7 separate regions of the Homo sapiens genome follow, and regions 2, 3, 4, 5, 6 and 7 are each linked to region 1. The links are contacts of gene promoters, found by promoter capture Hi-C in human tissues and cell types (Jung and others, 2019). All regions are on one chromosome and are shown on one strand. Each heading gives the region's core, a stretch centred on a gene start or on the middle of the fragment in contact. The rest is flanking DNA. Distances are from core to core; before and after follow the strand shown. Region 1 holds the start of CNOT3 (CCR4-NOT transcription complex subunit 3). Region 2 holds the start of ZNF581 (zinc finger protein 581). Region 3 holds the start of SBK2 (SH3 domain binding kinase family member 2). Region 4 holds the start of ISOC2 (isochorismatase domain containing 2). Region 5 holds the start of COX6B2 (cytochrome c oxidase subunit 6B2). Region 6 overlaps ZNF160 (zinc finger protein 160). Region 7 overlaps ZNF160 (zinc finger protein 160).

Region 1 (2,631 bases), core at 80-2,579:
GCTCACTAACATGGACAGCGTGGCGGCTTAGTGTCTTTCACCAGGCACCTGAGCGCCAGGGGATCCCAGCAGCCCCCAGCAACAAGACCACAGTGGTCCTGATATCACTGGGAGACGCCCACACCCAGAAGGTCGGAGAGTCACGATGCAGGGGAGTTCAAGGCTGCAAAGCCAGGGGCAGACGCCAGGATCAAAGAAGTGTGAGAGCTGAGACCAGACGTGGGCCACACTGAGGACGGTCCTGTACCCCAGGTGGGGGAAAGCCAAACTCCCCCAAAAAGGCAGGCGCCCAGTGCAGCGGGATGGCGAGGCTGGAGCCACCCAGGGCGCTACTCGCTATGAGAGGGAAGAGCTGCAGACTACAGAGGTGGAAACTTCGGCAAAGGCTCCAACTAACGGGGAGTTTCTCCTCCACTCCTCTCCCAAGAGGCTCCCATCCGATACAGACGGGCAGCTGGAACCTGAGATCCAGGGGAGGCTGCGCTCCCGGGAGCAGTGAGGAGGGATGCGGAGGGCGGCCTCGGTCCTGGGAAGGGTGACTCCCCCACCCAGCTGGGGTCCTCGTCCCGACCACCACCCCCCCTCCCCGCCACCGTCGAGGGAGAAGCCCCGGCGCGGAGGCTGCCCCACAACGCGAAGGACCGAGGCCGAGGGGGGCAGGCACCTGAGCCCCGAGAGGGCGGGCACCTGGGACCAGGGGCGCCTCCATCCTTCCAGCCAGGAGCCAATACCGACGCGGAGAGGGGCGGGCACCTCGCGCCCGGGAGGCTTCGCACCCTCACACCCCTACCGGGGGGCCCGACGCGATGCCACGCGGGGAGGCGGCGGCGGGCGGGGCCCGGGGTCCGGGTCGCGGAAGGACCCCCGGGAGGCGCTGAGGAACGTGAAAGAGGCGCAGGAACGGGAGGGCGAGAGGGAGGGAGCCGCCCCCCGCCGGGAGCCCCGCGCTGCAGAGGCGGCGGCAGGGGGCAGGCGAGGGGAGGCCATGTCGCGACAGACGGCGGTGTCGCCAGGGCGGGAGGCGGCGGGGAGGGCGGCCGATGGCGCCGGGGGGAGGAAGGGAAGGGGTCCGGCCCAGTCGAGCCTGACGCTCTCACCACAGGAGCTGGCGCCGCCGCTGAGGAGCGTATCGCGACAGGCGGGGGAGGCGAGCGCCCGCCGCCTTTTTCTCGCGCCCCGGGCCCGGGCGCTATCGCGATAGCGGCGCGAAGCGGAAGTGGGGTTGGGGGAGTGGGCCCGGGGTTGTTCTGACGACGGGGGTCGGGGCTCAAGGGAGGCCGCGGCGTCTGCCGATGGCTCCGCGGAAGCTGACCGGGCCCGGTCCAAGATGGCGGCGGCGGAGGAGGCCTCCCCTCCTCTCTTCTCGTCTCTGGCGCCGACCCGCCCCCGAGTCCCGAATATAGGCCAGTCATTGCTCCCGCTGAACGTCGCTCCTGACCCTTGGAGGCTTTCTATTGGTTCCTGGCAGGGATGCGCCCTGCCCCCTTTCGCGGATTGGGTGATCGCTCCAAGGCGCGGCGTTCGATTGGCCTCCCGCGCAGGCTGCTAGGATTGGCTCAGGTTTTCCTCCCCGCTCCTCCTCCTCCTCCCGCCTCAGGGCACAACACGCCAGCGCGAGGACCCGAACGTCAATCAAGAGACCTGTGTCGTGCTGATTGGATGTATCCGCCCCCCTCTCTTAAAACAATTGGTCTGGGGGAGGAGCTACGACAGTCCAGGGGCGGGAAGTCGTCCGTCAAGTTTAGAGCTCTTTTTAATTGGTTGCGGGGGCATATTCTGCCTTGAAGTCATTGGTTGGTCCTGGAAGTGGGTGGGGAAAGCGGAGGAAGGCATGGAGTGTGGGCGTTAGGGGCCGCGTACCTAATGGGAGACAGACAGGTGCCTTTAAAGCGGGGGCCGAGCCGAAGTCATCTGCCAATCAAAACAGCCACAGGGCCAAGTGGGAGGAGCTGGGCAAGAAAGTCCACCCCTTTTTCTTCGTTGGCCCTAAAAGTTATCATTCATGCTAGTTGGACCAATAGCGTGGCGAGTGGGCGGTAGCTGCTCGTAGAGCGTGTGAAAGAGGGTGTATGTAGCTGGCAGAAGTGGGACTTGGTCGCAACCGTTGCGTCCCGGCCAGGTAAGCAGCTTCCCTCTCAGCTGCCTCGTCTTTCTCCAAGTGCCTCTATGTTGGCACATCTCTGAAATTCATTATTTGCTGAGTGAAAGAAGAAAGGGACCAGAGACACTGCTTTAAGTCTCTGGCACCGTGCATAGCAGAATTGGTTGGGAAGCGTGAGGCATGGAGTTTTTGTCCTGCCCCTGCCTGGTTAGGCGACCAGATGGTGGGACAGTCATTCTCCTCTGCGTCTCCGCTTCCTTAGTGTGTTGAGGACGCTGCAGAAGGTACAGAGGAGACGGGTGGCTCCCTAATGCCTGCTCGTTTCAGGTCTCAGCTCTGTTGTCTTCTTGGAGAGAAAACTTCCCTGACCTCCCTCCCGGGCGGAGCGCTCCTGCGCGCCTTGTTCGTTAGGATTTATTTTTGTACGTCTACCGTCATTTTCGTAATTATTCGGTTTCCCTGTCTGGATTTTGCATCTCCAGCACTTAGCACGCAGGAAGTAGTCAGTAACCATTTGTCAAAGGAATAGA
Region 2 (2,631 bases), core at 36-2,535, 1.5 Mb before region 1:
CCACAGATGTCACACTCGAAGGGCTTTACCTCCGAGTGGGTGATGCTGTGTCGCTGAAGGTAGGACATGTACTCGAAGACCCTTGAGCACACGGGGCAGCTGTAGCACTTTTTCTGGCCTGGAGCCCCACTGGCCCCTGGCTCCCTCTGTGACTCCTCGTCCACCAGCACTGTGTAGGGGACACCCTGAGTGTCAATAAGCAGGTAGTGGTTGGGCCTTGGAGGAGATGAAGCCTGGGGAGATCCGATGGAGGAGGAAGGTCCAGGTTCTGGGGAGCGGCAAGTCCGACGGGGAGGGCCCTCCATGGTCTCAACGGAGGAAAATGCCAGAGGCTGAGGGCAGGGGGATGGCAGCACCAGCATCCGGAGGGCTGGCTGAGGCCTGGTGGATGGGAGATGGGATAAGAAGGTTATATAGAAGAGGGCAGCTCAGCACCACAGGCTCCATCCTTTTCCCTCCCTATACCCGGCCCAGGACCTCTGCATCCTGCTGCCCCTCAGTCCCTCTTTTCCAGTCCCGCTCACAGCTGGAGTCTGTGGCCCCCTAAAAGGTCCCCAGGGTCTTCCTCCTTGGAAAACCTCTCCTAGCCTCGGTGCTCCACCATACACTGTACTCACAGGATCTCTTGACCTCCTCTGCACAACCTGGACCTCGCTCTAACCTTCCTCTTTGTGCCCTCCCAGGTCACTGGGTGCCCCACCCCGCAGGCCTCCAGGCCTCTCCCTCCCCTCCTTCTAGCCCTTTCCAGGGTCTGCGTGTTGGCCTATGCTACATACTCAAGCCTTTCCTGACCCCCTCCATACAAGCCAAGCCTATTCACAGGGGCTCCGACGTTAGGACCCCCAGGTTCCGGCCCTCTCTCCAGCCACGTGTCTGAACAACTCCGTGCTCCCACCCGTCCACCCACCTCAGGTTCTCTCTAGTCCTCGCCCGGCCTCCACCAGGCTCGTTCTAGGTCCCAGCGCTCTCCGGGGTTCCACCCCCGGGGCCGCAGCCCTCGCTTTCTGGGCCTTTCTGTGTAAGTTCTCGCCCCCTCCAAGCTCCAGAACAGCCCCCTCCGGCGTCTGCCCCACTCCCGCCCCGGCCCAGGTACCCTCCACGCGGTCCAGCCCCTCCCGCCGCCCGCCCCCAGCCCCCTTCCTCCTCCCGGCCCCCGTACCCAGTGCAGCAGCCTCTCAGGTCCGGGCGACTCCAAGCGGCCCCGGGCTACCCTCGCAGTTGCAGGCGGCGGCGAGAAGGGGACCTCTGGGTGTGCCCCAGGAACTGGCGGCGCCGGCCGAAAGAGAGAAGCCGAAGGGAGAGAAGAGGGTCTAGGGAAGGAAGGTTGGGGCGGGGCGCCCGGGCCGTCGCGAAACGGCTCCGGCCAGAAACACACACCGAGAGGAAAGTACCCAAGCGAGGAAGATCCGGTCTCCACCCCCCAGCACCCAACGTGCACGCACACGCAAGGAAGAGCCTGAAAATGGAGTGCGGAATGTTTATTGAGCAAAGGGTCGGGGGCGTGGGCGGAAGGGGGGTAGATACAGAAATGAACCAGACCGTGCCCGTGCTCTTTATCATCTCTTCCCCGCAGACAACCACCGGTTCACCGCTCCAGAGAGCAGAAAACCAAGGTTTAGAGAGGTCATGTCACTTGCACAGGCTCACACAGCACAGCTGGACTGGAACCCAGTTCCGACTGGTTCCCAGGCCCAGGGAGGGGCAACGACTTTGGTCTACATCACACAGCTAGAAAGGGGGTAAGGAAGGAATGATGCTCCTCCCTTTGGAAGGTGGGGAAACTGAGGCCCAGGGTAAGGCAGTAACCTCAGCAGAGCCAGGGGGTGTGTGTGGGAGTGAGTGACGCTGTGTGGGTCAGACTTGGTGGCCCTGAGACGGGCAGGGCAGCACAGGCCGGGTCTCGAGCTTAGTGGAGGCGCACGTGCTGCGCCAGCTCCGCGGCGTCCTGGAAGCGGCGTGGGCAGAGCGGGCAGGTGTGCGGCGGCCCGGCGCGGGCGCGGTGCGTGGCGCGATGCCGCGACAGGTGGCTGGAGCGCTTGAAGGCCTTGCCGCAGGCGCCGCACGTGAAGGGCTTGAGGTCCGAGTGCGACACGCGGTGGCTCTGCAGCCGCAGAGGGCTGGCAAAGACACGGGCGCACTCCGGGCAGCTGTAGCCCTTGCGAGGGCCGGGCTCTCCTGGGGGCGCCTCGCGCTGGGGCGGGCCCCGGGGCTCCTCCTCCAGCTGCACCGTGTATGTGTAGGGGACCCCATTGGCGTCGATGAGGAGGTGGCGGCCCAGCCGCGGGGGTCGGGGCCCCGCCGCCGAGGAAGGAGTGGAGGAGGGGCCTTCCGCCTTGGGGAAAGGGGGAGCCTTGGGGGGCGGTGGGTCCATGGCCTCCGGAGAGGAGGACCGAGGGTGGGGTGGCCGCGGCGGCAGCAGCAGCATCTGGAGCGGCAGCTGGGAGCGGCGGAGGGGAGATTAGTTAAAATTGCCACTTCCTTTTAGGAAAAGTTTCCTAAAATGGAAAGCATCCCCACTATCACTGCTTGTTACCCTTTGTGCGCCACTGACTACCTCCCTAGCAAAATAAAAACTGTGACTCCAGCCCGGCTCTCCCACGTTCCATCAAGCTGCCTCGGAGAGGGCCTCCA
Region 3 (2,631 bases), core at 70-2,569, 1.4 Mb before region 1:
GAAAAAAACAGGGGTCTGAAGTCCCACTGTGGCCCAAGGCTTGGGGACTTCCTAGTGGGGCTTAATCTCCCTGTGCTTACAGCAGGGAGGCACTCACTGGCCTGTATTCCTGTTATGCGCTTTCAAACTATTTTTATTGTTATTCCTCTCTTTGGAATCAGGAGCCCTCAGGCCCTCCTCCCTCAGACCCAGGAGTCCAGGTCCTCAACCCCCTCCTCCCTCAGGCCCAGGAGTCCAGGTCCTCAACCCCCTCCACCCTCAGGCCCAGGAGTCCGGGTCCTCAACCCCCTCCTCCCTCAGACCTAGGAGTCCAGGTCCTCAACCCCCTCCTCCATCAGGCCCAGGAGTCCGGGTCCCGTGTAGAAAATGAAATCATTTCTGGAACCCACCCCTGCCTTGACCCCACCCAGCTGCCCCATCAATGCCCCATTGACAGGTCAGACACAAGTGCTTGGAGAGGGGTGTCCAGGGGATCAGATGCTGGGGTCTAGTTTGGGGAAAGAATGAGACAATGAGATTCCAGAACGATGCAGTGTGGGATGACCTCAGACTCAGAGGGGCGGGAAGCAGGTGCTGGAGCAACTGGGAAGAGAGGCCTTGAGGGGGTGGGGAGGCCTCAGTTCTGCCGGAAAACTTCAGATGGGTGGGGGAGGCTGAGGCCTGGACTCCTGGGTCTGAGGGAGGAGGGACTGGGGCCTGGACTCCTGGGTCTGAGGGAGGAGGGGCTGGGGCCTGGACTCCTGGGTCTGAGGGAGGAGGGGCTGGGGGTCTGGACTCCTAGGTCTGAGGGAGGAGGGGCTGGAGACCTGAATTCCTGGGTCTGAGGGAGGAGGGGCTGGAGACCTAGACTCCTGGGTCTGAGGGAGGAGGGGCTGGGGTCTAGACTCCTGGGTCTGAGGGAGGAGGCACTGGGGGACTGGATTCCTGGGTCTGAGGGAGGGAAAGCTGGGGGCCTGGATTCCTGGGTCTGAGGGAAGAAGAGCTGGGGGCCTGGACTCCTGGGTCTGAGGGAGGAGGGGCTGGGGCCTGGACTCCTGGGTCTGAGGGAGGAGGCACTGGGAGACTGGATTCCTGGGTCTGAGGGAGGAGGCGCTGGGGGCCTGGACTCCTGAGTCTGAGGGAGGAGGAGGGGCTGGGGCCTGGACTCCTGGGTCTGAAGGAGGAGGGCTCAACTCTTGGGTCAGGGTATTCACCTGACCACAGCCAGTTCCAGGAGTCATCACACGATGTCGCTCTGCTCCCAGTGGGGGCAGAAGGGGCGGGCCCAGGGGCGGGGCCTTACGACCCCCAAAGTCGGGGCGGGGTCTTGCTCCTAGGCAGGCCTCTGCTGGCATGAGCCCTAAGTGCCGGGCACTGACCACAGCCGGCGGCCGGAGGGTCAGGAGGGCCTTGGAGGAGGTGAGGTCTGGAGGTCTGAGCCCAGGTTGGGAGGTGGGCAAGGTGCCCTGGCCTGAGGTGGGCAGCACCTGAGGGTGACTGTACCAGGTGGCCCGAGTCCTCGGTCCCTCAGGGGAGCCTGGGCTGCACCTGGAGGCTGTAGAGCGGTGGAGGGTGAGGGAAACAGAATCAGGGGGTCCCCAGTTGTGTGAATTGTATGAGGTTCCGGGAGAGAGGTGGGCTGGGGGCCTGGACCCCTGGGCCTGGCGGAGGAGGGGCTGGGGGGCTGGGTCGGAGGGAGGTGGGTGGGCTGTGAAAGTGGGACCCCAGGCCTGTCAGGAGCTTGGGGACTGATCCCAAGTGCTCGGTCCCATGCAGGACCCAGGCGTCCCAGGCCCTCTGCACAGCCCGCCCTCCCAGCCCTGAGCCCAAGAGCACCTGTTTGTTCTCAGGAGACAGAGTCTACTCATCCACCCCCAGGGCCCAAGTCTGTTTGCTTTGGAAACAAGATGGGGGAGTCTCAGTTATCTGGTTCATCTTTCAACCTCAGGGTGGGCGGGTGGCGGCGGCGGCACGCGGGCAGGGACATCTGTGACCTGGGGCTTGAACTCACACCAGACTTGTCTCCCCACCTCTCACCAAGAGGGAGACTGAGTCACAATGAGAAGCGCGATGAGCCCCCAGCCCCTCCTCCCTCAGACCCAGGAGTCCAGACCCCCAGTCCCCTCCTCCCTTGGGCCTGGGACCTGAGCCTGGGCACCCCTCTCTGTTCTCGCAGAGATGCCCGGCAAACAGTCTGAGGAAGGGCCGGCGGAGGCAGGGGCTTCGGAGGACAGCGAGGAGGAGGGTCTGGGCGGCCTGACATTAGAGGAGCTCCAGCAGGGCCAGGAGGCTGCCCGCGCGCTGGAGGACATGATGACGCTGAGTGCTCAGACCCTGGTCCGAGCCGAGGTGGACGAGCTCTACGAGGAAGTGCGTCCCCTGGGCCAGGGTTGCTATGGCCGCGTCCTTCTGGTCACCCATCGTCAGAAAGGTACGAGGCTGTGGGGCCAGAGGTGGCAGGGTTCAGCTGGGGGCGGGGCACGGGCCTGGGGTAGCCCAGGCTGGGGAGGCTGGCAGGCCTGAATCAAGTCTTACCTCTGCCCTCCAAAGCTGTGTGTTTTTTGTTTTTTGTTCTTTTGGTTGGTTGGTTGTTTTTGAGACAGTCTGGCTCTGCCGCCCAGGCTGGAGTGCAGTGGCACAATCTCACTGCAA
Region 4 (2,631 bases), core at 94-2,593, 1.3 Mb before region 1:
ATTCATTTCCAATTCAGATTGGAGTTAGTGCTGAAAAGAAAATAAAACACAAGGCCGGGTGCGGCGGCTCACACCTGTAATCGCAGCACTCTGGGAGGCCAAGGCAGGCGGATCACTTGAGCCCAGGAGTTCAAAACCAGCCTGGGCAACAGAGTGAGACCTCCATCTTTACAAAAAAATTAAAAAATTAGTCAGGTGTGGTGGCGCATACCTGTGGTCCCAGCTACTCAGGAGGCTGAGGTGGGAGGATCGCTTGAGCCCGGGAGGTTGAGGCTGCAGCAAGCTGTGATCGTACCATGGTACTCCAGCCTGGGTGATAGAGCAATTTTTTTCTTTTTTTTGATGTTTCAAAAAAATTAAAAACAGCGACCTGATGGAAGGGCTACCTGACACCAGGTGGTCAGGAAAGGCTTTGAAAGCCTGGAAGGTTGGGCCATGGGGAGTCCTAGGATTCCAGGCTGAGGCAGCACACGTGCAAAGGCCCTGCGGTGGGACATTGAGGGAAGAGCAAGAGGAGACCCCTGTGGCTGGAGCGGAGTGAGCAGGGGGAGTGGTGAGAGGCGAGGTCTGCACGGACCAGGAAGGCCGACCATGAATTGGGAGGAGTTTGGATTTATTCCAAGACAGATAGGAAATTCTCTCTTTCTCTCAACCTCCATTTCCAAGCACAGAGTCTAAATTATTCTAAACACCACCCGAGGAGGCAGGTGCTGTACAGATGGGGAAACTGAGGCAGCACAGAGCGCAAAGGACAGGGGGGCGTCAAATTCCTCACTTGATCGCTCCCTCAGCCAGCCCCTTCCTGGAAAGTGCTTGGGTATCTTTGTAAGCCTCCGTTTCTTGAGAGAGGGCCAGGTTTCGAACCGCAGACATGCCTCTACTCTAGGTAAGACCCCTCTCTCTCTCTCCCGGCCTCGGCGGTCTGCTCTGTGCAATGGGGCCGGCCGAGACGCCCTCTCTCCAGCCAGAGTCTGAGCCTTCGGAGACCACCGCGCGACTCCGCCCCGTCGGCCGCCACTCACGCCCTCTACGGCTCTCCATTGGCAGAACGACCTGCTGCCCCGCCCCCACGGCGCCTTTGCGAGCTAATCATTTTCTTGAGACTGACAGCCTTGCCGGCACCGCCCCCCCTGGGGCGGGAGCAAAGCAGCTGCATATGCGGATTGGTTGAGAGGCAGGGGGCGGGGTGAGTTGGTGAGCGCCGATTGCGGGCAGAGGCAGTGGCACATGCGGATTGGCCGGAGAGAGCGGCGAGGCAGAGCATGATGAGTGTCGATTGGACGGCTGGGCCCAAGTGGGCGGAAAACGGACGGTGCAGGGGGTGGGCCACGTGTCCAGCCCTAACGAAACGGTAACCAGCCCTGGGAAGCCCGCAAGAGGCCTCAGCGGTGGCCGTCCGAGAGCCGAGAGGTGAGGGTGCCCCCGCCTCACCTGCAGAGGGGCCGTTCCGGGCTCGAACCCGGCACCTTCCGGGTAAGTCCTCTCTCGCTGCTGGCGCTATTTGGAGACCGACCTTACCGCCTAGCAGATGGGGAAACTGAGGCTCTGCCTGGGCGTCCCGGGCCAAGGTCACAGGACCAGAAGGAGGACTCCACCTGGCCCCGCCAGAATTGGCTGGCCAGAGATTGGAAGCGTCCCCGGGTCGCGCCTGCCGCCTCTGTAACAGCGCTGGGGGGTGGGCAGGTTTAATCCCCATTTCTCCGACGAGAAAACTGAGGCTAAGACAAAGAGAAACTTGCCCAAGGTCACACAGCCAGGAAGTCCGGGCTCCAAGGCCGGGTTTCCGAGACCGGGTGGGGAAATCAACGGCCCTACCCCGCCCCCTGTTGCCGCCCACCTCCAGCCACGCCCCCTTTGGCCTTGGGTACCCTCCACCCAGGCTGAATCTCTCCTCGTTCCGCAGGACACGCCCAACCCTCTCCAGCCCAGACCTCCCCTTCACATCTCTCTCTCTCACACACCCACCCTCACCCCAATTTTTCATCTCCCAAAAACCAGTTCCCCTCCCCGGGATCCCCTATGAATCTTCAGATCATGCCCCTCGCTCGACCAGAAACTGGGGGCCTTTCTCCCCGACTTTCCCCACCGTCCCAGCTGCCCCTTCCTGACTCTCCCCTGTCCCACTGGGCCCCAGCGCCGACCTCCTGCTCTCTGGCCTTTTGCCTCCAGTTCAACCGCACGGCGGGGGCCTGAAGCCATCTTTGTATTTTGCATTTTGAACACTTTTTCTGGAATAATACCACAAACGCAGAAAATCGAACGGTTTGCAAATACACAGCTTAAATAAATATTTATAAAGGGAGCACCCTGGTGTAAACAAGTATCCAAAGAAAAAAGTCAAACATGCGCCACATCCCAGGATCTCCCGCCGTCGTCGTTTCCATCACTGTGGTCCAAGGGCAGTCACTGTCCTGGCTTCTGACGCCATAGATCAGTTTTGCCGGGTTTTGGCTTTATGCCAACCCTTTATTGTATATAGTATTGACTAGACAACTTGTTGCACATTGTCCAGAATTCAGAAGAAACAGAATAGGACCCAGTGAAAAGGCTCCTACAGACTTCCCCGGTGCCTGGTTCACCCGCCTGAGTCTCCCGTTTCTTGCTTGTTTGCCAGAGATAGCAGATATAGAT
Region 5 (2,631 bases), core at 74-2,573, 1.2 Mb before region 1:
AGTGATCCTCCTGCCTCAGCCTCCAAAAGCCCAGCCAAGTTTTTGATTTTTTTGTAGAAAAGAGGTCTCACATGTTGCCCAGACTGAAGTGCAGTGATGCCATCACAGCTCACTGCAGCCTCAAGCTACCCAGGCTCAGGTGATTCTCCTGCCTCAGCCTCCTCAGTAGCTGGAACCACAGGCACGCACCAACACGCCTGGCTAATTTTGGTATTTTTTGTAGAGATGGGGTTTCACCATGTTGTCCAGGCTAGTCTCAGACTCCTGGACTCAAGCAATCCTCCCGCCTCTGCCCCACAAAATGCTAGGATTACAGGCATGAGCCACCGCACCTGGCCGGGATTCTTAATTCGTACATTTGGCTGTCAGTGTAAACAATCCTGAGTCAGGCCTGATATTAACCAGGCAGGAGGGAGAGAAGCTTAGCAGGGATCTAGAGGTGAAACCACCTGCCCAGATTCCAGTTACTTGTCTGCCCCTAGAGCCAAGACTCATTGATTCCGCCTCGGATTTATTGTGCATTTACTACTGCCAGACTCTGCCCCAGGCAGATACAACAGTGAGCCAAACACACAGCAAGACCCGCCCTGGGGGACGCTCTCCTAAGCCAGGCATCTGCAGCTCTTAAAGCCCTGGGTACCCCTCTCTCCCTACCCTGTCCCCCAAAGCTCTCTCTGGCTTGCTTTCTCCCTGCAGCCTGCAGCACTCCCAGCACTCCGAGTGGCCGGATGCGGGGGCTTAACCTCAGTTGGAAACTGTCCAGAGGAGCCCAGCGCTGCCAGGTACCCTTTAAGACCCTGGAGATCTGCCTTAGACCTGGGGGCGGGGGGAGGGGGGCGAGGGAGGAGGGTGGGGGGGGCGGGTAACGGAGGGGGGAGGACGAGGGGGGCGGGGGGGTTCCCAGGAGCCCGGACCCCACCGCTGCTCTTTCCTCTTAACCCCACAGGCCCCGAGGGTTCTGTGCGCACCGACTGTAGGAAGCGGAATGTTGAAAGCCGCTTGGGGGGATTTGCCCCCTCTGGTAGATACCAGAACTATGGATATGCCTTTATATATTGGGGGGCGGGGGGGGGCGGGGGCGAGCCCGTGGAGCCGCCCAACTTCGCAGAGATTAAAGCTTGAGCCTGAGACTCAGCGAGTCGCACCTCGGTGCCTGTGTGCACGCGCAGGCCCCCGAGGGGGCGTCGGGGGAGCAAGGGGTGGGGTGGGGGCGCCCCTACCAGCCCCGCGGTGCACGACGGCTCCCATTGGCTGGGGCTCGGGCGTCCTAGCCAATCCGGCCGCGGGGTGCGTTTCTCCTGACCCGGGTGGGACCGCACCCCGCGGACTCAGAAGCGAGCGGCACCCCGGGACCATCCCACAGCAGATCCAGTGGCCGCCAACGTCAGGCTGGTGAGGGCACGACGGGTGGGGTTCAGGGGCGGGGGTCAGGATGGGGAGACGGGTCGGAGCGAGGGCGCCCCCTCGGCCCCACGGAGTCCCCGTCCCGTCCCGTCTCGCAGGAGTTGCCTCCTTCGTGGATGTTGGATGTGGAAGCCCAGGAGCCCCCCAAGGGGAAATGGTCGACGCCGCCCTTCGACCCGCGCTTCCCCAGCCAGAACCAGATCCGTAACTGCTACCAGAACTTCCTGGGTGAGACCTGCTCAGCCAGGTTATGGGAGGAGCAGGGTGTGACAAGGGACGGCAGGGAGGGGCACTCCCACCCTAAGTCCCGCGGAGACCGTTAGGGTGGGAGGCCGGGCGGGGCCGGGTTGGTGGGGGCGGGGCCTGGTCGAGAAAAGGCGGGGCTGAGCCTGGAGGGGCGGGGCGAGGTTGGTAGGGGCGAGGCCTGATCTGGAAGGTGCGGGGCCGAGTCGTGAAGGTGCGGGGCGAGGTAGGTAGGGGCAGGGTCTGGGTAGGAGGAGCAGTGTGAGGGAGGTAGGGGTCGGGGCCTGGCTGGGAGGGGCGGGACGGAGGCCTCCAGGGGAGAGGGAGGCGGGACGAAGCAGCGAAGAACTGGGAGGGCCCGAGCAGTGGAGGGGCGGGTCCTGTCCTGGAATGGGCGTGGCTTGCCGCGTGACCCCCGCCCGCCACAGACTACCACCGCTGCCTCAAGACCAGGACCCGCCGCGGGAAGAGCACGCAGCCCTGCGAGTACTATTTCCGCGTGTACCACTCGCTGTGCCCCATCAGCTGGGTGAGTCGGCAGAGGGGGCGCCGGGCCAGGCGTGTGCAGGGCTCGGCCGAGGCTGAGCCGGCGTCCCGCTCCCTGCCTTTCTGCTTCCCAGGTGGAGAGCTGGAACGAGCAGATCAAGAACGGGATTTTCGCCGGCAAAATCTGACTGCCCCAGCGCGGCTTCCTCTGAAGATGCAGTGATCCTGCATCTTTTTGTCTCGCGGAGCCCCGGGTCTCGGTTATCCACCCCTACCTCCCAGTGTCTAAGCCACGAATAATGGTATGCTGTTGCTGATGTTTCTTCTTAATGCCCAGCCAGCGATGCGTCGTGGTGGTGGTGGGGATCCTCCGTGTGCCTGTGTCCGGGCTAACGCTGCTTTTTCCGATAAGGGGCAGGTGGGGGACTGCTGCTCCATCAGGTAGCAGCAGGCAGTCAAGGCCCTAAGACAGGAAGCCGAATGCCTCCCGTCCCCCTT
Region 6 (2,631 bases), core at 1-2,500, 1.1 Mb after region 1:
ACCCCCTCCTTGAAATTGATTAGTTTGCTTGAGTGGCTCACATAACACAGGGAAACACTTATATTTACCCATTTATTATAGAAGATGCTACAAAGCACACAGATGAACATCTAGATGGAAGTGATCTATTAGTTGAGATATGGGAAAGGAGTGAGGAGCTGGGATGTATTCTCTCATGTATTCTGTCTTTTTTGAGTTTTCATGGAGGCCCCATTATGGAGGCCTTGCTTCCATTATTGGCATTGGTGATCAACTGAACTTTCATTCCCTCTGTCCTCCCGAGAGGACAGAGGCTTAGTCTAACCGAGCCTCAGCCTTTCCAGTGACCACCCACCGAGCCTTAGTTCCGGTGACCGCCCTCCATCCTGAAGCTACCTAGGTGCTCCAGACACCAATTATCCCATTAATGTACAAAAAGATACTTATCACTCCACTGATTTCAAGTGAGCTCTTATGTCAGGAGAGGGGGATGAAGACCAAATCTGTATGTCACATTGTCACAATCTGGATCTGTCAGCTCACCCACTTCAATTTAACCTATTCTCACATTTTTCTCCTCTTCTCCTTTTATGTGAAATTTTGAACTCTCCCCTTAGCCACTTGGTGAAATGTGTTTTTCATTTTAGGTACGGTTGACATTTAGGGATGTGGCCATAGAATTCTCTCAGGAGGAGTGGAAATGCCTGGACCCTGCTCAGAGGATCTTATACAGGGACGTGATGTTGGAGAACTACTGGAACCTTGTTTCTCTGGGTGAGGATGACTTTCTTCCAGAAGTCAAGATCTGTTCTTGTCTATTGTTGCATTTTCCCTTACGAGTCCCTGGAGAGCCCCTGCATTGCTTGACTGAGATTGAAGTCCTGTTGACTCTGAAATGGAAAGCTTAATCATGGGAAACCTGGACTTTAATCTTCCCCTTTCTCAGATGTTCTGCCTCCTTTGTACTTCATCATTTGAGGTTTCAGAGCTTTTGTATGCATAATACATTGTGTTAGACTTTTGAAATGTCAGATTTCCTGTTTTCTACCTCTCTGCTTTGGATTAAGTTGTTGGTGGAATAGAGCCTTCTATCAGCATGTACCATGTTTCCTGGGTATTCAGAAGGAGGCATTCAGTGGATGATTTTTTTTTTTTTTTTTTGAGGCGGAGTCTCGCTCTGTCGCCCGGGCTGGAGTGCAGTGGCGTGATCTAGGCTCCCTGCAAGCTCTGCCTCCCAGGTTCATGCCATTCTCCTGCCTTAGCCTCCCGAGTAGCTGGGACCACAGGCGCCCGCCACCACACCTGGATAATTTTTTTTTATGTTTTTAGTAGAGACAGGGTTTCACCATGTTAGCCATCATGATCTCCATCTCCTGACCTTGTGATCCACCCACCTCAGCTTCCCAAAATGCTGGGATTACAGGCATGAGCCACCGCGCCTGGCCCAGTGGATGAATTTTTGAAGTTTTCTTAGATCCACATATAATGTCCTCTCATGTAAACATAGGGCTGGGATTCTGGAAAAGCCCCGGCACATTGTGATCCTTTCTTTTTATAAACAGGACTGTGTCATTTTGATATGAATATTATCTCCATGTTGGAGGAAGGGAAAGAGCCCTGGACTGTGAAGAGCTGTGTGAAAATAGCAAGAAAACCAAGAACGCCGGAATGTGTCAAAGGCGTGGTCACAGGTAAGAGCTCAGATGGGCAGAGAGAAGGCCACTCATTAACTAGAGTGTGGGAGGGGGCACAGTAGCTCACGCCTGTAATCTCAACACTTAGGGAGGCCAAGGTGGGCAGATCACTTGAGGTCAGGAGTTCGAGACCAGCCTGACCAACATTGTGAAACCCTATCTCTACTAAAAATACAAAAAAAAATTAGCCGGGCATGGTGGCGTGTGCCTGTAGTCCCAGCTACTCAGGAGGCTGAGGCAAGAGAATTGCTTGAACCCGGGAGGTGGAGGTTGCAGTGAGCCAAGATCATGCCACTGCACTCCAGCCTGGGTGGACAGAACAAAACTCCGTCTCAAAATAAATAAATAAATAAAGTGGGAAACTCTCTGCAGATGAGAGAGTTCTTTGGGAAAATAAGTTGCCTTAGAGATAGAGGCAAAGTCTTTATCATGATGGACAACACCCTGTCATTTGAACTCTATGGTTCCTTCTGAAGAAACTGCTTTCTTTCTTGGTCTCTCCCTCTGTATTTAATTCCATATGGTGCTCAGTTCTTAGTCCATATGGGTCAGAGGGGAAGCCTCCATAGTCCTTAGTCCTGACGTCTAGACCTGTTTATGTTCCACCCCATTTCCTGTGCGTGGAAGACCTGCTCAGGAGATGGAAACATTGGCTGCTGCTCCTTGGCATCTGCTGCCCCAAACCTCATGGAAGAGTCTCCAGCCGTCTCCGCCTGTCGAGGTCCCTCGGCCATTTCTTCCATTCTGCTTTTGCCACTTTCATGGGGGTGTGTGATAAGCGAGTGGGTTCTATCTTCTAAGATTGTTCTCAGCATAACCGTAAAGACACCTAACAAAATCCTTCTGTCATTGATCCTCAGTCTTACATGGGGTGCGTATTCTGTTTTTCCAGGCTTCAGCACAGAAATACAAGTACTGCATGTTGTCACTTACATTTGGAATCTAAACCAATAAAACT
Region 7 (2,631 bases), core at 62-2,561, 1.0 Mb after region 1:
AGCTCAGGTTACCTGGGAAACAGATGCTGACACAGAGATTTGCATGCAGGAATTTAATTCGGAAACTCATCATCACAGTGAAGAGGACTGAAGGCAGTGGAATCAGGCAGAGAAAAACATCCCGAAGTGTACTTAGAACCAAGACCTAAGCTGAGCCCAGAGGGAGCTTCAGCAGCAGGAGGATGGGCGCCTTGGCCTGAGGGTGTGGATCCCAGAGCTGCTCCACAGCATCCGCTCCACGGGGTGATTTCTGTGGAGGCTTTGGGAAGTGCAAAAACCATCCTGAAACCCATAGAGGAAAGATAGGAAGAATCTCAGAGATTATTTTCTGGGTTGCCTTTGGCATTCGGGGTATTTTCAGTTGCAGATCAATAAGCTTTCAGTTGTGTTTTGGAAGATGAAATGATCATTTGGAGTGTTTCCTTTCCTGATGTTGGGGTCTAATTGCATCATTAGAGACATCTCTGTTTTATTGGTAGGTTTCAGTGGTATTCCCCTGTGGGGTGGAGTCACTATGAGTGGAAATACGTTGCCCTGGGTCAGTGAGTTCCTGGGGTGTTTGTGTATATTATTCCATGAGTTACTGGGGCTTGTGAGATTTCATAACAGGGCTTCTGGATCTTTATGAAGTATCTGGGGATTGTGGGATCTTTATGAAGTATATGGGGAGTGTGGGAGTTTGTAAGCGTGTCTGAGTCCAGAGGGCAACGGGGATCCTAAGAATCAGGCGCAGATGGCTTTCATTAGGGAGGGTTTGTTGTGGGGGCGTCTGTGGGTGCAACTCAAGAGGGAGTGATTATCAGGGTCCCAGAGTAAGGGAAAGATTTCTCCAAGAATCAGAGTGAAACACAGCACACTGACCTGCGGCCCAAAGGCTTCCACTGGGACTGTCCTTGGGAAGATAAAGCTGCCACATTCTTGCAGCCAGGCCGGTGGCCTCTCCCTGTTTATTCCAAGATAACAGAGTCACAGAGTCACAAGGCAGCTGGGGAGCTGAGGGGCAAGGTCCTTGAAACCCGCTGTGGAACATGGACCTTTCTCCAGTGCAGAGGGGCCACGGGGCCCTGGGAAGGGAGTTGGAGGGTTACAGCCCTGGTCATGGCAGGGAGACGCAGGAACTGGAGGCAGGAAGAGCTGTGTTCATCCCCACAGGGTGCCCCTCCGCTCAGGAATTTGTGCAATAGAATGGGGTGAGCTAATGGGGTCACATTTAGGGAAAGGAGTCTTTCTGTCCACCCAACACACATCTCATCCTATGCACACGCTTCTCCCTTTCCCCGTTGTCCTCTCTATGATGGGAAACTAATGCTTCCCCAGGCGGGTGATTGAGGGAGAGGACGGGTTGGTCTGTTTGTCTCTCTCCTTTCTCCCCTCCCTCAGGTCTCCTGCCTGCCTTTCTGCTGCTCTGTTCAGACTCTCACTTCCTGCAGTTCTGCAGTCAGTTTGCCCCACGCAAGACCCAAGGATCTGGGTCTGTGAATAATATTCAAGCCAACATCATTGCCAAGTGAGAAATCTTAGACCCCAGGACCTTTTTTCCATGGAGGGGCCTGGGCACAGAGACAAACTCTTCTTTTTGCAGAATTTAGGGTCTTTTATTGGCCACGTGGGTCTGCTGAGCCTCAGACAGGGATCCCATAGTCAGCCAGATGTGTTTCTGGGTGGACTTGCGCTTGCCCTTCCACAGGTTGGTAAGCAGAGTGGTCTCCATGAAGGGCCCTTGGCTCTGCCCCTCAGTTAGTCCTGCTCAGCTCCCTTCTCACGAAAAAGACCACCCCAAGGACAAACATGCAGTCCACCCCTGCATACATCAGTCTCCCAAAGTGAAGACCATAAAAATGGCCTAATATTTCATTCATTCATTCAGTTATTTATTTATTTTGAGACGGAGTCTCGTTCTGTCTCCCAGGCTGGAGTGCAGTGGTGCGATCTCAGCTCACTGCAACCTCTGTCTCCTGAGTTCAAGCAATTCTCCTGCCTCACCCTCTGGAGTAGCTGGGACTACAGGCATGTGCCACCACTCCTGGGTCATTTTTTTGTATTTTTAGTAGAGACAGGGTTTTACCATGTTGGTCAGCTGGTCTTGAACTCCTGACTTCATATGATCTGCCCACCTCGGCCTCCCAAAGTGCTGGGATTACAAGCATAAGTCACCGCACCTGACCATATATCATTTCCTTTTAATTATTTACTTATTTAATTTTTACTACACTCCCATTTTAGCAATACTAATATTTCATTTAATGTTGCTATTATTATTTACTGTTATTGAGACAGAAGCTTTGTGTTAGACGCTGATCTCATGTAACGTGACTCTTTTATAATTGTGCTTAGGATTCCACGGGAGATGAGTGAATAAACGACTGAACATTGTGCATAAACAGACAATTTATATATTCATAAGATTAAGACATTTTGTATTCCTCATCCGTTATGCAAAGCAAAGACTAGACACTCTGGAGTCATCTCTCATGAGAACAAACCTGCGGACAGCTGGGAAGCACACCAGCCACCAACTGGGAGTATTAAAAAGAGCAATCCAGTCTCCAAATCAAGGGGAGGGTTCAAATCATAGACAAGCTGCAGAGCCACCGGGTCTCAGAGTTTCCCGCGGAAACGCTGGGACTCGCT

The links. The method cuts DNA at HindIII sites, captures the fragments that hold promoters and counts their contacts. A contact is called where the count stands out against the background at its distance.
Region 2: the fragment with the promoter of ZNF581 here is called in contact with the fragment with the promoter of CNOT3 in region 1 in 2 of the 25 tissues and cell types used here (dorsolateral prefrontal cortex and liver).
Region 3: the fragment with the promoter of SBK2 here is called in contact with the fragment with the promoter of CNOT3 in region 1 in 1 of the 25 tissues and cell types used here (spleen).
Region 4: a contact is called between the fragment with the promoter of ISOC2 here and the fragment with the promoter of CNOT3 in region 1, in 1 of the 25 tissues and cell types used here (spleen).
Region 5: a contact is called between the fragment with the promoter of COX6B2 here and the fragment with the promoter of CNOT3 in region 1, in 1 of the 25 tissues and cell types used here (spleen).
Region 6: a contact is called between a fragment that was not itself captured here and the fragment with the promoter of CNOT3 in region 1, in 1 of the 25 tissues and cell types used here (aorta).
Region 7: a contact is called between a fragment that was not itself captured here and the fragment with the promoter of CNOT3 in region 1, in 1 of the 25 tissues and cell types used here (dorsolateral prefrontal cortex).

Annotation. Positions count from the first base shown.
Region 1 is chr19:54,136,460-54,139,090 of GRCh38, reverse strand. It overlaps CNOT3 (CCR4-NOT transcription complex subunit 3), which reads right to left and starts at 1,329. Exons shown (of 18, transcript NM_014516.4): 1 at 1,098-1,329. The HindIII fragment of the contact is 23,783 bases long and covers 1-2,631 here.
Region 2 is chr19:55,642,303-55,644,933 of GRCh38, reverse strand. It overlaps ZNF581 (zinc finger protein 581), which reads right to left and starts at 1,285. Exons shown (of 2, transcript NM_016535.4): 1 at 1,160-1,285; 2 at 1-381. The coding sequence starts at 362. ZNF580 (zinc finger protein 580) reads right to left here. Exons shown (of 2, transcript NM_207115.2): 2 at 1,464-2,437. The coding sequence starts at 2,425. The coding sequence ends at 1,907. RefSeq lists enhancers at 1-351, 1,253-1,472 and silencers at 1,083-1,132, 2,077-2,371, 1,903-2,372. The HindIII fragment of the contact is 13,132 bases long and covers 1-2,225 here.
Region 3 is chr19:55,535,821-55,538,451 of GRCh38, reverse strand. SBK2 (SH3 domain binding kinase family member 2) reads left to right here and starts at 1,319. Exons shown (of 4, transcript NM_001370096.2): 1 at 1,319-1,398; 2 at 2,156-2,410. The coding sequence starts at 2,158. RefSeq lists a silencer at 416-710. The HindIII fragment of the contact is 44,152 bases long and covers 1-2,631 here.
Region 4 is chr19:55,460,354-55,462,984 of GRCh38, reverse strand. ISOC2 (isochorismatase domain containing 2) reads left to right here and starts at 1,343. Exons shown (of 6, transcript NM_001136201.2): 1 at 1,343-1,473. The HindIII fragment of the contact is 25,257 bases long and covers 1-2,631 here.
Region 5 is chr19:55,353,411-55,356,041 of GRCh38, reverse strand. COX6B2 (cytochrome c oxidase subunit 6B2) reads left to right here and starts at 1,323. Exons shown (of 5, transcript NM_144613.5): 1 at 1,323-1,392; 2 at 1,503-1,632; 3 at 2,076-2,176; 4 at 2,268-2,435. The coding sequence starts at 1,521. The coding sequence ends at 2,321. It overlaps GARIN5B (golgi associated RAB2 interactor family member 5B), which reads left to right. Exons shown (of 11, transcript NM_001145402.2): 10 at 697-782; 11 at 947-1,134. The coding sequence ends at 742. RefSeq lists silencers at 1,739-1,788, 1,899-2,008. The HindIII fragment of the contact is 4,590 bases long and covers 770-2,631 here.
Region 6 is chr19:53,073,179-53,075,809 of GRCh38, reverse strand. ZNF160 (zinc finger protein 160) reads left to right here. Exons shown (of 6, transcript NM_001322131.2): 4 at 627-753; 5 at 1,542-1,670. Among named protein-coding and RNA genes, the nearest start is that of ZNF160, 29 kb to the left of the region's middle. The HindIII fragment of the contact is 9,128 bases long and covers 1-2,631 here.
Region 7 is chr19:53,095,470-53,098,100 of GRCh38, reverse strand. All of the region lies in intron 1 of ZNF160 (zinc finger protein 160), which reads left to right. Among named protein-coding and RNA genes, the nearest start is that of ZNF160, 6.6 kb to the left of the region's middle. The HindIII fragment of the contact is 5,693 bases long and covers 1-2,631 here.